Regions from separate parts of the Homo sapiens genome. Here all the other regions are linked to region 1. The links are contacts of gene promoters, found by promoter capture Hi-C in human tissues and cell types (Jung and others, 2019). All regions are on one chromosome and are shown on one strand. The core of a region is centred on a gene start or on the middle of the fragment in contact, and the rest is flanking DNA. Distances in the headings are between cores, read along the strand shown.

What was found. The method cuts DNA at HindIII sites, captures the fragments that hold promoters and counts their contacts. A contact is called where the count stands out against the background at its distance.
Region 2: a contact is called between a fragment that was not itself captured here and the fragment with the promoter of SEMA5A in region 1, in 1 of the 25 tissues and cell types used here (dorsolateral prefrontal cortex).
Region 3: a fragment that was not itself captured here is called in contact with the fragment with the promoter of SEMA5A in region 1 in 1 of the 25 tissues and cell types used here (hippocampus).

Annotation. Positions count from the first base shown.
Region 1 is chr5:9,543,185-9,548,332 of GRCh38, reverse strand. SEMA5A (semaphorin 5A) reads left to right here and starts at 2,258. Exons shown (of 23, transcript NM_003966.3): 1 at 2,258-2,749. It overlaps SNHG18 (small nucleolar RNA host gene 18), which reads right to left and starts at 2,133. Exons shown (of 3, transcript NR_045196.2): 1 at 1,803-2,133. RefSeq lists a silencer at 2,135-2,324. The HindIII fragment of the contact is 8,719 bases long and covers 1-5,148 here.
Region 2 is chr5:10,233,072-10,238,219 of GRCh38, reverse strand. ATPSCKMT (ATP synthase c subunit lysine N-methyltransferase) reads left to right here. Exons shown (of 5, transcript NM_199133.4): 3 at 1,605-1,742; 4 at 2,959-3,009. Among named protein-coding and RNA genes, the nearest start is that of ATPSCKMT, 14 kb to the left of the region's middle. The HindIII fragment of the contact is 6,092 bases long and covers 1-5,148 here.
Region 3 is chr5:10,133,113-10,138,260 of GRCh38, reverse strand. No RefSeq gene overlaps it. Among named protein-coding and RNA genes, the nearest start is that of ATPSCKMT, 110 kb to the left of the region's middle. The HindIII fragment of the contact is 6,248 bases long and covers 1-5,148 here.

The DNA of each region.
Region 1 (5,148 bases), core at 1,009-3,508:
GTTTATTTACCTGCTTATTAGCAATTATTTTGTAATTAATCACAATTATCACTAAAATATACATCTTTTAACAATGCATTGGTGCAGCCTGTAAACAGCAAAACTGAATTCAACTCCCCCCTACATATATACAAAATTATGTAATTTATCCAGTTAAATGTTATGTTATCAGACCTATTGGGTCATGGTTTAGAAAGCTATCTTCTTCCCACTGCTTAGCTCTATATGCCAAGAGTTTTTTTGCTTTTTTTTTTTCTTTTCAAGTATTAACGGCAATGTTCAGAGGCAAGAAGAGGATTAGCTGAATACATTGGGTTCTAATTTCTGTCTCCCTCACCCTGGCCACGTAGGCTCCACAGGTCCAGGCAAAGGCTGCAGATCCAAGCATAAGGCAGCTTCCTCCCTACATCTTTCCCCCTAGAAGCAGCCAGGCAAGACCTTGGCCTGCCTCTTCCTCCCAGGGAGGCTCCTAGGCCTCTGTGCCACGTAGGCAAGATAATCGGAATGTCTGGAATGGAACTAGTGCTCTAAGTGCCAAGCAAGGGAAGGGAGAACGGTTAAGCTTTTCCTTCAGGTCCCCAGGAGCCTGCAGCTGCCACACAGCAGGCCGGGAGCCCCCGCCACAACCCAGGGAGGAATGCTTGCCAAGAAGGCCTGCCCAGCTACTGACACTTCCTCCCAGAGGTCTTAAAGGAAATCCCAGTAAGGCCTGAGTACCCAAGACAGCCAGATCACCCGTGCCAGAGACTGGGCATTTGGGGATGGGCTGGGCTTTCATAGAAACCTTCGGAATTGCTTTCACTTAATTCTTTTATTTTAAAAAAAAGTTCTAGAAAATAAAGACACATCGATAGCAATTTGTATTTCCATTGTCCTCTTAGGTCTGCATGGCTACTGTGCGAGCTATGACACCCTGCAGCCTGCAATAGCTTCTTTGTTTTATGGATGAGCTCAATGGAACCCTTATGGACGCACCGGACCATGCCCAGGACCAGCGAGGCCCATCCATACCCCACCACTGGCTGGAAGGGCGCTGGTGTGAACGTGGGTCCTTGCGGGGGTCCCTACCTCACTGCGGTCAGGAGGGGGCAATTCACACATTTCCTCATGCAGGGGACCTTCAAGCCTCCCTCTGAGGCGCAGACTGAGTAAAAAGGGCCCAGAGATACTGTCCCGCACCCCCATCCAGTGGGAAAGGGCCACTCAAGGCCAGTCAGGACTCCCAACCCAAGTTTTATGCCTTATACTCCTATAACTTTACCATTTGCTCTTTTCGCGAGGCTGACCCCCTCCCTCTCCCCCCCCACCGCCTCCTCCAGAAACTGAAGAACTGCAACAAAGTGTCCAATTATACACGTCTTCAAAGGTACTTTACTTGCTTCCCAATTATCAACTTTTCACCTGAGTACTTAGTAAGGCCCAAGGATCCTGCAAAAGTGCAACAAGGAATAATTGACACAGAATTGGACGAATGACTTTGACCATACGGGACTTCTCTCTTAACGCTCAGCGTGGCTACCTGGGGACGCCTTCTCTGGCCTCCCTGATTCGTCAGATTTGTTCATTTCCTTGACTTAATCCCGCTGAAATCGACCCGAACTAGCCGGGAGTCTCACCCCCAAAGTGCTCCTCCAAGAACCCGCAACGACTGACTCTCTCGTCTTCTTTAAGGAGTTTCTCCCTCAGAACGGATGAGGATGTCACACAGAAAGAACAAAATCACAAAGTTCGAGTTCCGGAGGACCAGACGGCCCCTGCCCCCCATCCCCCGGGCCAGATTTAGCCGAGGGAACCGCACGTACCTGAAGCCGAGGCCGGCAGAGAGGGAGCGCCACGTCTCAGGTCTCGGCCGGCGCCCCCCTCCGGGGTGCAGCCACGTCTGAACCGGGACAGCGGGCGGGGGAGCCGCAGAGGGACCCAGTGAGACGGGGGAGGGAGCCCCCAAAAGTCAGCGCTCGGCCGCACTCGCACTGGGGAGGCTGGAATGGAACTCCTGGGGTGCAGCGGGGCTCCCAGGAGCGAAGGTGGGGGTCCTGTACCGGGAAGGGGCGGGGCCCGGGGAGGGGCTCGGGGAGGTCAGGCGCGGGTGGGGCGCTCGAGTTTCACCCCGGCGGGGAGGAGGAGGAGGAGGAGGCGGCGCGGCGGCGGGGGCGGGGCAGGGGCGGGGCGGGGCGGGGGTGGGCCCAGGCTGTCCCCCGCTCCCCGCCCAGCGCTCTCCGCCCCGCGCTCTCCGCGCCCGCTCGCCCCGCGCCGATCTACTTGCCGGGAAGGCGGCGCCGGTGGCGGCTGCTCTCCCTGAGCCCGCTCCCGAGCGCTGCTTTCCCGCCGCGGGTGGGCTTCGCAGCCTCAGGCCAGCCGCGGCCCTTGGCCCGCTGCAGCCCCGGCCCTCCACCTTCCCCGTGCAGGGGCGGCCCGGCCAGTGTCGCTCATCCCGGGACGCTCCCTTCTCCCACCCAGGACTGCCCCGCGGAGCTGGCTTGGACACCCAACTTTGCCACCTCGAGGGTCGTCTCTGCTGGGCGCGAACCTGCCCACCCACCGGTTGGCCGCGCGCTCGGGGACCGTGCTCGTGGCCCCCAAGCCGGTGCCCCCATTCTGGAACTCAGCGAGTAGGGGGCGGCTCTGGGGAAGTGGCAGGGGGCGGCTGCAGCTGCTGCCTCCACTTCCCTAGCCAGGTGCTGAAGAGGATCCTCGGAGCCGCTCTGGCCCCCAGGCGCTGGATGACTGGCACCAGCGCTCCTCGCACCTGGTGAGCGACCCCCGCCCGATTCCTGCGTGGCCTTGGCAGGAGCCCCTGACCGCGCCGCGCCGCGCCGCGCCGCTGGCCGGGACCCGGGGACTGCAGCGGTCGGCTGGTGGGTGGTGCCGATCTCGGGTGGGATCCATCAGCAGGCACCTGGGCGGGGGTTGCGCGTACAGGATTAGGACGACCGTCAGTCCGGGGGCGCCCACAGTTGAGCTAGTGCACGGGCTGGAAGTTTGTGTACCCGCCTGTGCCGAGGTCTGAGCATGGAGAGGTAAGGAGCCGGAGTGTCGCGGTGGGCGAGACGGGACCCCTGCCCAACACCCGGAAAGGTGCGCACACTGGTCTGTGCCCGCCCCCGGCGCGCCTCCAGGCTCGCACTGCCGCGAGCCGGGGGCAGGGGACACGGAGGTCGGGACTTGGCGGTTCGGGAGCGGCCACCTCGCAGCCCCACCGGCTTGGGCAGGTTTTCCTGCTTTCCTTACAGGGGAACCGGGAGGCAATGGGACTTGGGCTCAACTCCGCCAAGCGCCTTGGTTAATGAAAGACACTAAGGCGGGGGATGCAGAGGCCTGGGGAACCACCAGCCAGGTGCGCTGCAGCTAGGCGAGCCCCTTTCACCAGGCATCCCTCCGCTGCTCCACGGATTTTGCACACCGCGGCTCAGGGTTTCAGACCCCAGGGTTTCGGGCAGATCGGGCTCCAGAGGGAATGGTTTCTCCCAAGATGTGCGTGGGAACGGTCGTGGAGGAGTGATTCCCCCGGCTCGCTCCCCGCGGCGGCCGGTGCCTGGCTTGGAGCGGTCACATCCCTGTTCCCCTGGCTTTGGCGGGAAGCGCGTTCACCTCCTCGCCCTTTGCTTGCTTTGTACCAGGATGCCGCGGCCGGAGTTGGGATTTAACTTTCCTGCGCCTGCGGCGTCCTCGGGATTCCCGGCAGGGGGCGCTGCGAGCGAGCGCTCGGAGGACGAGGCGCCACAGGCAGTTGCTGGGTCCTGGGCGAGTGGGCGGGAGTCCCAGGCAACAAACAGCAGAACCAGGCAGATCTTGCAATAATTTCATTTTGGGGGCCGGGGGTTGGGGGAGCTGATCTGGTGGCTATAGAGAGCTGTCAGCCTTGCTAGGAGAGGGGACAGGAAAGGTGGTGGCCAGACATAAATGCTCTAACTAGAAAGGTCTCTTCCAGAGAAAAAGATCGCTGTAAAGTCTTCCTTGTCTGGGCATCTGCCTTCCTTGTGACTGTTACATTTACTCAGAAAGAAATCGAAATTGAGGGAAGATAACGTGAGCTTTGTTTAATACCGTTCTGCTTTTTAGGGGTACTTTAGTTAACACATCAGGAGTCACAAATGATTGTTCTGGTTTGTTTTGAAGAAAGACAAGTTTTACGTCTAGCTTACCGAGAAGAGCTCTGTCATAATGGCTGAGTTTGGAATCAGCAGATATGTTATTAATTATAGAGGTAGTCTGTTCATAAGGAGACAGAAACACAAAACCAGGCTTTAATAAGAAAGATTTTTCAATACCTAATTAGGATTGCTGAATTTGTTGCTAATTAATGCCAGTTTCATTATTTTAGAGAGTGTAATGTTTATCATGACCACTTTACACAACTTCAGTTCAAGCAGATAATACCATTAAGTTATGTATAACTGAAATAATTTTCTTGTCTGTGCCTGTATTTACACCAAAAGAAACATGGATTTTTTTTTCCCCTCCAAAAGATTTCTTTTTCTATGTTTTTTTTTTTTTTTCATGAAAAATACAGCCCTAAGTGTAATTGTTTGGTTCACTTGAAACACAGATGTTTTTTCCCTTGAGTTTCTTTCTTGTAAAAACTTTGGAGATAGAAGCTTGCTCATCCACGTTGCTCCATGCAGTCACACTAAGCATCTGTATACTCATTGAAGTGTGGGGTTGACAAACTGACATCTATTTCTATGTGCTTTTAGCCAATATGTACTTTTATTAACAGGGAGAAGACAGATGATGCTAATCATTTTATGTCTTTTGTGAATTGCACTAACTCATTTGGTTGTTATAATGTCAAACAGCTGCGAGATCCCTGCTGCGAGTAAAGCTTTGGCCTCCTGGGTGGTAAAGCTTGTCTCTGTCCAGAGGAAATTTTTGAGACGTTCAGAATTTGGTAAAAATAAACCTGCGTTCTTCACTGCCGTTTCCCTTTAAAATGATTTCATCACGTGTCTTGGGAGAATGAAACGTAGAAACTTACAGCTCAGAGGCTGTTAAAACTTATTGACCACGAGACCGAAATAAATACAAGCACATTTATACAAACTTCTGCATAAATTTTAGAGTCATGGGCCTTCTGAAGCCCCGTCCATGGATTTGCAGTAAGAAATTTAGTTCCAGAGTCATGTTAGCCTCTTGCTGAAGGACAAATGT
Region 2 (5,148 bases), core at 1,024-3,523, 690 kb before region 1:
CGGTTCGGGGTGTGAAGCATATTCACGTTGCCGTGCCACCATCACCACCACCCATCTCCAGAACTCTTTTCATCTTGCAAAACTGAAACTCTGCCCCGATTAAATAATAACTTTCTACTCCTCTCCTCCCCTCACCCTCTGGGAGCCACTATTTGTTTCTAAGAAATTTATTAGTGGCCAGGTGTGGTGGCTCATGCCTGTAATCCCAGCACTTTGGGAGGCTGAGGTGGGCAGATCACGAGGTCAGGAGTTCAAGACCAGCCTAACCAACATGGTGAAACCCTTTCTCTACTAAAAATACAAAAATTAGCCAGGCATGATGGTGCACGCGTGTAATCCCAGCTACTCAGGAGGCTGAGGCAGGAGAATCGCTTGAACCTGGGAGGCGGAGGCTGAAGTGAGCCAAGATCACGCCACTGCACTCCAGCCTGGGTGACAGAGCGAGACTCCATCTCAAAAAAAAAAGAAATATATTAGTCTGTTTTCATGCTGCTGATAAAGACATACCTGAGACTGGGCAGTTTACAAAAGAAAGAGGTGATTAGACTTACGGTTTTACACAGCTGGGGAGGCCTCACAATCATGGTGGAAGGTGAAAGACAAGGAGGAGCAAGTCATGTCTTACATTGATGGTGGCAGGCAAGGAGAGAGCTTGCGCAGGGAAACTCCCCCTTATAAAACCATCAGATCTTGTGAGACTTACTCACTGTCATGAGAATAGCATGGGAAAGACCTGCCCCCATTATTCAGTTACCTCCCGCCAGGTCCCTCCCACAACACATGGGAATTCAAGATGAGATATGGGTGGGGACACAGAGCCAAACCATATCAATAAATCAAGGAGAAAGTTTTGAAATTCATATTTGAATGCTTTACGTATTTGAAGAGTATCTGTGGTTTCTGAGAAAATGTTTTCTTGCAGCACTGTAGTACTTGGGAACTATCTTAGGTGGGACAGCTGAGTCAAGGGATGCTCCCTTAAAGAATGGGGCAGGACAGAACAGGCAGAGAGAACCCAGGACTGCCCCACATCCCTCCCACTCTCCGGAGGCCAGTGGGATTCCACAGTTGACGTTATTGGGATTCATTTCATTTTACTTTTACCTGTTTTCAGTTTTGAGTAAACAGTCATTAACTACAAAGGAAATATGTAACTAATTGCAGATTTTTCATTGACAGGTTATTTTTATTGCATATTATTACTTGTTCACAAAACCATCCTCCCAGACACTTTCATTTCACTGCTGCTGTGCTAGCCCACTGATGGAGAGATGCAGTGGATTTTCAGCAATGTTTTGTTCGACCTCCCCGGGGGTTGGCTGACCTAGAATCAATTATGGAGGTGTTCCAAGTGAACCTGAATGTCTATTCTGATACTTGAGGTGAAGTCTTTAACCAATCAAGGAAACTAAGTTGCATGGGTTGACTATTACGTTGTCCACAAAGCTATATCGCTTTAGAGACACATTTTAAAATGATGTCTTAGTCACGGGAGGTGCTTTTTGATTGGATGTTTAAACCATTGATAGGAAATATTCATATTGTTTGACCATGTATGTTCATTTTTTCTTCTTATTTTGAATAAATCCTGCCTCTCTCCACAGGTCATAGCGGCTGCGAAGAAAGGGTTCACAGCAGTTGGTTATGAATTAAACCCATGGCTAGTTTGGTATTCCAGATACCGCGCTTGGCGAGAAGGTGTGCATGGATCTGCCAAATTTTATATTTCAGATTTGTGGAAGGTATGTAAGGCAGAGAATGGCCCTAGAGAAATCCAAGGGAAAATTTTATTATTCAAAATTAGTATGACTGAGAACTGAAAAATGTATTAAAAGAAAAATAATTAAAATCCAAGTGAATATTCTGGCATAATGAAATATGTAAAATTGATACGTTTTACAAATAGTCTCCTTTAGAGAGAAGCTTAAAGTTTTTATATGATAGGTCTTGTGAATTCCAAGAATTTATTTACTAAATTAAAATGTTGTCATTTCTGTTTCTTACAAAATAATGAGATTTTTCATCTCATTTGGAAATCCTATAAATTATTATTGATAAATATTAGACTTTTCCATTTGTGTGCCTGTGTGAGTGTGTGTATGCATATTCGTATATTTAGAGAGACACAGAGATGGTTGCTGGAGAATCGTGCTATCACGGTTATTTCTTATCCTCATAAAGTATAAGATACTTCCAAATTTATTTGTACTCTAAAAACTCTAAAAATGCCCTGTAATTTTGCTTTAGGAATGTTCCATAAAATGCTTTTTCTTAAATAAGAATTTTCCATTGTAATATTGTCATCAGTAGCTTACAAAAATTCACTTGAGTTTTGCTTGCATTGTTTTTTTATGCCATATGTGCATAAACGATCTCTCTATAGAGTAAATAAGACTTATTGGGCAATAAGAATTTTAACTGGCAAAGCACATTTCCCCCCAGTTTTTCAACTAAAGACCATTTTATTGCACTTTTTTACATAGTATTTTAGAGAAGAGGAGGGGGACTCAAATTTTAAGGATGGTTCAACAACAACAAAAAACAGATGGTTCTGAAGTCTCCTGTGTTCTGGTGAAGCTGGTGGTATAGAGTGGACTGGTGCGGGAACACGTGGCCCCGGTGCCACCAGCTGGTCACAGTGGGGTCACAGTGTGGTCACTAGCTGTCTGACGCATGACCACTGGGGCGTGCCCTGGATGGAGTCACCCTGAGGATGAGATGGGATGACTTACAGGGAAGCGTTTGGAAAACTGCAGTGGATTGAATTAAAATGAATGAGAGCATGAACATGTTATTCTTTTCCTTGTGAAATCTTAAGGAGGGCCGCTGTTCTTAGGAGTTCATCAAAACCCACCGTTTGGTAAAATGGAAAACTGCTACCCATTTCTGTAAAACAAGTTAAGCTTCACGTTTGGCTTTTTGCACTTAATCTACTGATTATTTTCCCACCTTGTTCAGGTTACTTTTTCGCAGTACTCGAACGTTGTTATTTTCGGTGTGCCTCAGATGGTGAGTATGCACTTTCCTGCTCTCTGTTTGGGGTTAGATGATGTTGAAGGCCCTTCCAGCCACAACACCACCACTCACCCGTGTGAGGGTGATGGCCTCCCAGAGATTTTAGGGAACACTGGATTTCAGTTCATTGATTTAATAAAATACTTCAGAGTCTTAGAAGTTTAATCATAAAAGATTCAGTCATACTTTTAAACTTTGGCTTCAGATTAAATTCTCAATGATTTCCCTAAGCCTTAAACATTCCAGTTTGGAAACTGCTTTCTGAGGTCCCGTGTCTAATGTAGTTTGCAGTTTTCACAGCCGCTCACTTCCACTTCGCTGAAATCGCTCCGGAAAGTTAATGAGATGTTCCCTCTGAATTGATCATTCCTCCCATTTGGAAGGAAGATAATTTTCTGGGTGGATGAGCATTGAGTAGTTTCAGTTTACCTCAGTTTACTGATTTGCTAGAGGATGGCATATTGAACTTTGATTATGTACTTTCAAAAGTGAAAATGCCACAGTATTGTACTGAAAATGGCCCTCCTTAGCCTTTGGAAGGATGGTCATGGTGGGAAGCTTTTGCTGTATTGCTGGTGCACAGACCATGGAAAGAAATCCCTTTTCACGTTTCAAAGTCTATCATTGTAGCCATAATAAAATTGGCAGAATTGAATGTTTGCTAAAATGCTGTGATATAGCTGATAGGGTTTTAATTTTTTAAAAAGACAATTTACCTTTTTTTATTTTGTTTTTTAATTAATACCCAAATTTTTGTATAAGACATTTCAGTGCTTGAGAAATGTATTTCTACTACTAAGACCTTCAGTATAATGCCATATTCTTTACTTTTAAAATATAATTTAGAAATGCTTTTGTAAAATATTCTTTTTTTTTTGAGCCAGGGTCTTGTTCTGTTGCCCAGGCTGGAGTGCAGTGGCATGATCTCGGCTCACTGCAACTTCTACCTCCCTGGTTCAAGCAATTCTCCTGCATCAGCCTCCTGAGTAGCTGGGACTACAGGCACCTGCCACCACGCCCAGCTAATTTTTATATTTTTAGTAGAGGTGGGGTTTTGCCATGTTGGCCAGGCTGGTCTTGAATTCCTGACCTCCAGTGATTTGCCTGCTTCGGCCTCCCAAAGTGCTAGGATTACAGGTGTGAGCCACTGTGCCCAGTCTTGTAAAATGTTCTTGAAAGTGACAGTATCCTGTACATTTATAATTCTCATTAGGCCTAAAATTAAGACCAAACTTTGGTATTCAGCCTTTTCTTATAGAAGTGAAATGAGGTAGAAGGGCACACTCCCTGGTCATTTTTAAAAAACTGATTGGGATCATAGATTGATACGCAATTTTGATGGTGATTTATTACCTGTGATGTTTGGGCTTTCGTTCTAAAATGGAATTGTTAGCTTTTTGGAGACAAGTAACTTTAATTTGAATCTGTGCTTTATAAAAATAGAATGTTAGCATTTACTGGAAATTCCATGCGTTGTGGAGAGGCAGGATGATGAAATCAGGATTACTTGTCCCAGCGGGGGGCAGCAGTGGCCTTTGGTAGTCATCGTCACTCCAGGACCTGTGGAGCCGACTCCGGGTGCTTCTTACCATGTTTGAAGTAGACTGACTCACTTTATGGAGCTGTTCAATCAGGGGAAATAAGAGTCTTATTATTTATGAATACTTTTGTGATTACTGTCCATTCTTCTGTATGTAGAGAAATCTGAAATAAGGAACATGTACCATTTCACTATTCCCAAGGAGAAAGGGGAGCAGCTGAAGGATACAAAGTGTCCACGTTCCCTGTAATAGAGATTTGGCCAGCTTGCTGTCTTCATGCTGGTGGGTCGGTCAGGGGTGCGGAGGCTGGGATGGCTTCTGTTGGTTTGGAAGGCTAAGTTTTGTGTGTGGAGGCCCCTACTTTCAGCCTTCATCAAGCTGTGTCTCAGTGGAGGCCATGAGGGGAGGGGGCGTGTGCTGTGCCAGTCGACCATCCCAGCCGTGGCTGGGTGACTCCACAAAGCCAGCATGCCATGTGACGTTCCCTGCTGATGCCCAGGTAGATACTCAGAGAGCCAGGGGAGCCTTGGGGAGGCCCAGAGCCAGGAATCTCTGGGGCTGTAAACCCTCACCCCTGCTTCTGATACCAGAC
Region 3 (5,148 bases), core at 1,381-3,880, 590 kb before region 1:
ACTGCAAGCTGCGCCTCCCAGGTTCACGCCATTCTCCTGCCTCAGCCTCCCGAGTAGCTGGTACTACAGGCGCCCGCCACCACGCCCGGCTAATTTTTTGTATTTTTTTAAGTAGAGATGGGGTTTCACCGTGTTAGCCAGGATGGTCTCGATCTCCTGACCTCGTGATCCGCCCGCCTTGGCCTCCCAAAGTGCTGAGATTACAGGCGTGAGCCACTGCGCCCGGCTGTTTTATTTGTAAAAGTCAGTGGATGACAAAACAATTTCAGATGACAGGGTCCACTTGGCTTTCCTTCCCTCTCCTTAGAACCGAGCACCTTCCACAGCTTTTACCCCGGACACGTGTTTTTTGGCGCATCTGCAGAATCCCTCAAAACTTAATTATTTATAACAAAACAAAAAACAAAAAAACAGCGTAACAAGATGCATTTTCAAATAGTGAGTTCATCTGAAGCACCTTCTCGAGCAAGAGGTTTTGTTCCAGAGGCTGTGGGAATAATGGTAGTTCTGGCAAAATGGAAATGTGACTGGCCACTCACACAGTCCTAAGATCTCCTGCTTAAAAGAAGTGTGATAATGTGCGCTTGGGGAGAGTGACCGCATTCTTCTTACAATACAGTCCTACCCTGGAAATTGTGACTGAACCAGAAAACACCCCAGGCCGTGGCTTCCGCTGGTCAGATTTAGGGAAGATATGAGGAAAGGAAACCTAGAGAAATCAGGGGGAAGAGAGAAAATATGTTATAATGGCTAAATAAGCCCAAACTTATCAGTTGTGACAACGTAAACAATGAAATAAAAATCAGGATGAAACATAATGACTCAGAAAGTTTTAAAATTAATAAAAGAGAAGAACGTAGCAATATTCCAACAGATAAATTAGATCTCAAGATGAAAAGTATTAAGGACAGAGACAGCCATTTCATATTAATACAAGTGAAAATGCACGAAGGAGATATAATAGTTTTGACGTTGTATGCACCTAATACAATACCTTTGAAATACAGCCATTCCTTTGAATTACAAGGAGAAATTGACAATCCTGGAGAGATTTTGACACATCTTTCCTGTAGCGGGCTGAATGGTGGCTCCAAAGACATGTCCCCATCCTAATCCTTGGAATCTGTAAATATTACCTTATTTGTAAAAAGGGTCTTTGCAGATGTAATTAATTTAAGAACACTGAGATGAGATCATCCTAGATTATCCAGGTGGTTCCTAAATGTCATTGCAAGTATCTTTTTAAGAGAGAGGCAGAGAATTGACACAGAGGGGGAGGCCATGGGAAGGGGAAGGTAGACATTGTAATAAGTTGGCACAAGTCACGGAGTGTCCAGGAAGGTGGGCAGCCACCAGAAGCTAAGGTGGCCAGGGACAGACTCCCTTAGAGCCCCTAGAAGGACCACCACCCTGATGACACCTTGATTTTGGATTTCTGGCCTCCAGAACTTGGACAGAACAAATTTCTGCTGTTTTAAACCACCGAGTCTGTGATAATTTGTTACCGCGGCCACAAGAAATGAGTTCTCAAAAGCTACCATAGCAAGTAGAATAATAATTAATAAGAAAATAAAGGATTTGAAGAATTTAATTAACTCTACATCCAAGTGAGTATACTCATTAGTTTTAAGTACATGGGGAAATTTATAAAAAATTAACTATGTACTAAGCAACAAAGAAAAATCCACAATTTTCAAAGGCTGAAGTCATCAAGTCCTTTTTCCAATGGGGACCGGGGAGTAAAAATAGTAACCGACAACATAAAGATAGACAGGATATCCCCGCATAACATCTGGAGGTTAAAAAAAAACCTTCTAAATAATTCACGTTTTAAAGAGGAAATCATAATGGAGTACAGTACTTAAAACCGAATGACTGTAAAAGTTCTGCACATAAAAAGTTATGGGATAAAGCCACAGTGGTACTCAGAGGGGAATTTAGATCCAGAAGTGCATTTATTAGAAAACAAGAAAGATTAAAAATAAATGAGCTAAGCTTTCAACTTAAGAAACTATAAAAAAGAATAACAAAAATCTAAAGAAAGTAGAATGAAGAAGAAAACTAATATACAAGCAGGAATTAATGAAACAGAAGGCCAGAAATTCCAGTCATCAACATAACCAAAAGCAAGTTCTTTGACACAATTAACACAATAGACAAATTTTTGACAGGTATAATCAATAAAAAGGAGAGAAGACATAAATATCATGAGTAAACAAAAAAGGATTTATAACTACGGATACTATCAACCTTCAAAAATTATAAAAGAATTGAATATTTTTATACCAATACACTAAGAATGACTGATGTTGAAAACTTTCTAAGATAATATATATAAACAAATTGATCCAAGAGCAAGTAGAAAACCTGGATAGAGACACAATCATTAGATAAATGGAAATGATAGACAAAGATCAATAACCAAAGAGGCAACAAATCCGTAGAGTTTAAAAGATGATTTTTATAAAGTATTTAAGGAACAAATAACCTAAATCCCCTGAAACTATTCTAGAGTTTAGAAAAAGATGGAAAGCTGACCAACTCCTTTTGTGAAGTTAGTAAAAACACTATTATCAAAATAAGATAAGGAAAGCATAAGAAAAAAAAACACACACAAAGGATCATTATACTTGTACATGTAAAAACCACAAAGAAAATATTAGTAAATTGAATCCTATAATTTATTAATAATATAATATAACTCGAGCCACTAGGGTTGGTTCAACAACAACAAAAAATGGACAAATTGTCAATTTGTCAATGCTTTACTAAATTAGTGGGGAAAAAAATCCCCATAATTTTCACAGTAGATCCTGCCATTTGTCCAGCTCCCATAAACATTCATTCATGACACAAACACCTAGAAAACTGAATAAAGGAGAACTCCCTGAACTATTAAAGGATGTAAACCAGGAAACTGTAGGAACCACCATGCCTAGCGGTGCCACAAAATTAAAGTCAAATCACATCTCCCATATCACAGCTTAGCCCAAATTCAAGAAAAGAAATACAAATTGGAAAGGAAGAAACAAAACTCTTGTTATTTTCCGAGGCCATAATTGCTCAGTTTGGAAAATCCGAAGAATAACCTGACAAATGATTAAAACCAATTAATTAGTTTAGCGGGAGTGCTGAATGTGAGTTGGACATATAAAGATTGGCAACTTTTCTTCCTTCAGCAAAAACCAATTAGAAATTTCAATAGGAAAAATGATCCTATTAATACTAACAAATGCATAATACTAACAATACATAATACTAACACAATACATAATACTAACAAAATCTTTTGGGTATTGGAGACTACACCTTTGGCAACCATGCCAAAGGCCTAGCCATCCTCTTTTTTTTTTAACTTTTTTTTTTTTTTTTTTTTTTTTGAGATGGAATCTTGCTCTGTCGCCCAGGCTGGAGTGCAGTGGCGTGATCTCGGCTCACTGCAAGCTCTGCCTCCTGGGTTCACGCCGTTCTCCTGCCTCAGCTTCCTGAGTAGCTGGGACTACAGGCGCCTGCCACCACGCCCGGCTAATTTTTTTTTTTTGTATTTTTAGTAGAGATGGAGTTTCACTGTGTCAGCCAGGGTGGTCTCGATCTCCTGACCTCGTGATCTGCCCACCTCGGCCTCCCAAAGTGCTGGGATTACAGGCTTGAGCCACTGCACCCGGCCTTAACTTTTTTTTTTTTTTTTTTACTAAAAAATCCCCTTAAGCTTTGCTTGGCTTGTCAATATATTCACCAAAGATAAAGGATCTCTCAGCATCTTTGCAGGTGGTGTTAGCCGTGTGATGGTCTGCTCAATGATATGTAAGTAGAATTCCTGCAGGAGGGGGCTCCTCATCAGATAAGAAGACAGCACTTGGTAAGAAGCTGCTGTTGGCTCTTCCACCTTCTTCCTGCCTGGAATACAGACAAGATACCAGGAGGTACAGCAGGCTTCTTGGGATCACATTGTGACCACTTTCTGCTGAAGATGGTGGAGGAAAAGACAGAAGATGCTCAGTTCCTTGATGATCTCCTGGAGCAAATCACTGGCCTGGGCTGCCTTACCTTGGGCTTCTTGGTGAAGGGTGAGGTTGGGAGGGAGAGACAAAGAGGTAGGGGACCTTACTGGTTACAGCCATTGGTGTTTAGATTTCCTCTAACTCACAAGTGAACACAGCCCAGATGCAAAATCTAACAAAAAAGTGTTAAAACCAAATGACCATGAGATGTCACTACATAGCTATTAGAATGGCCCAGATCCAGGATGCCGACAACACTGAATCCTGGTGAGAACGTAGAGCAGCAGGAGCTCTCATTCATTGCTGGTGGAAATGCAGAATGGTGTGGCCACTTTGGAGGACAGTTTGGCAGTTTCCTATAAAAGAAAACATACTCTTACCATAGGATCCAGCAGTCACTTTCCTTGGTATTTACTCAAATGAGTTGAAAACTTCTGTCCACACAAAACCTGCATATGGATGTTTATAGCAGCTTTATTCATAATTACCCTAACCTGGAAGCAACCAAGAGGTCCTGCAGTAGGTGAATGGATAAACAAACTGTGGTACATCCAGACAGTGGAATACTATTCAGTGTTAAAAAATGAGCTATCAAGTCATAAAAAGACATGGAAGAACTTAAATGCATGCTGCTGAGTGAAATAAACTAACCTGAAAATGCTACATACATCTGCTCCCAAATATATGACATTCTGGAAAAGGCAAAACTATGGGGACAGTAGAAAGACCAGTGGTTGCCTAGGGTTGGGGGGATGGATGGATAGGTGGAAGACAGAAAATTTTTAGGGCAGTGAAAATTCTCTGTGTGTTATTGTAATGGTGGATACATGTCATTATACGTGTGTTCAAACACATAGAATGAAGAGCACCAAGGAGGAACCCTAATTTAAACCATGGATTTTGGGTGATACTGACATATCAGTGTGGGTGGATGGAGTGTAAGAAACATATGCTCTGGTGTGGATGCCAGCTGTGTCTGAGGGGCTGTGCGTGTGTGTGGGGACAGAGGGGATAAGGGAAGTCTGCGTACCTTCCTCCCAATTTTGATTTGAACCTAAAACTGCTCTTAAAAAAAAAAGTCTTTTTAAAAAAATGTGAAACCTAGATGGAGAAATCTGCAAAATGTCATAGTAGGACATAAAAAAAA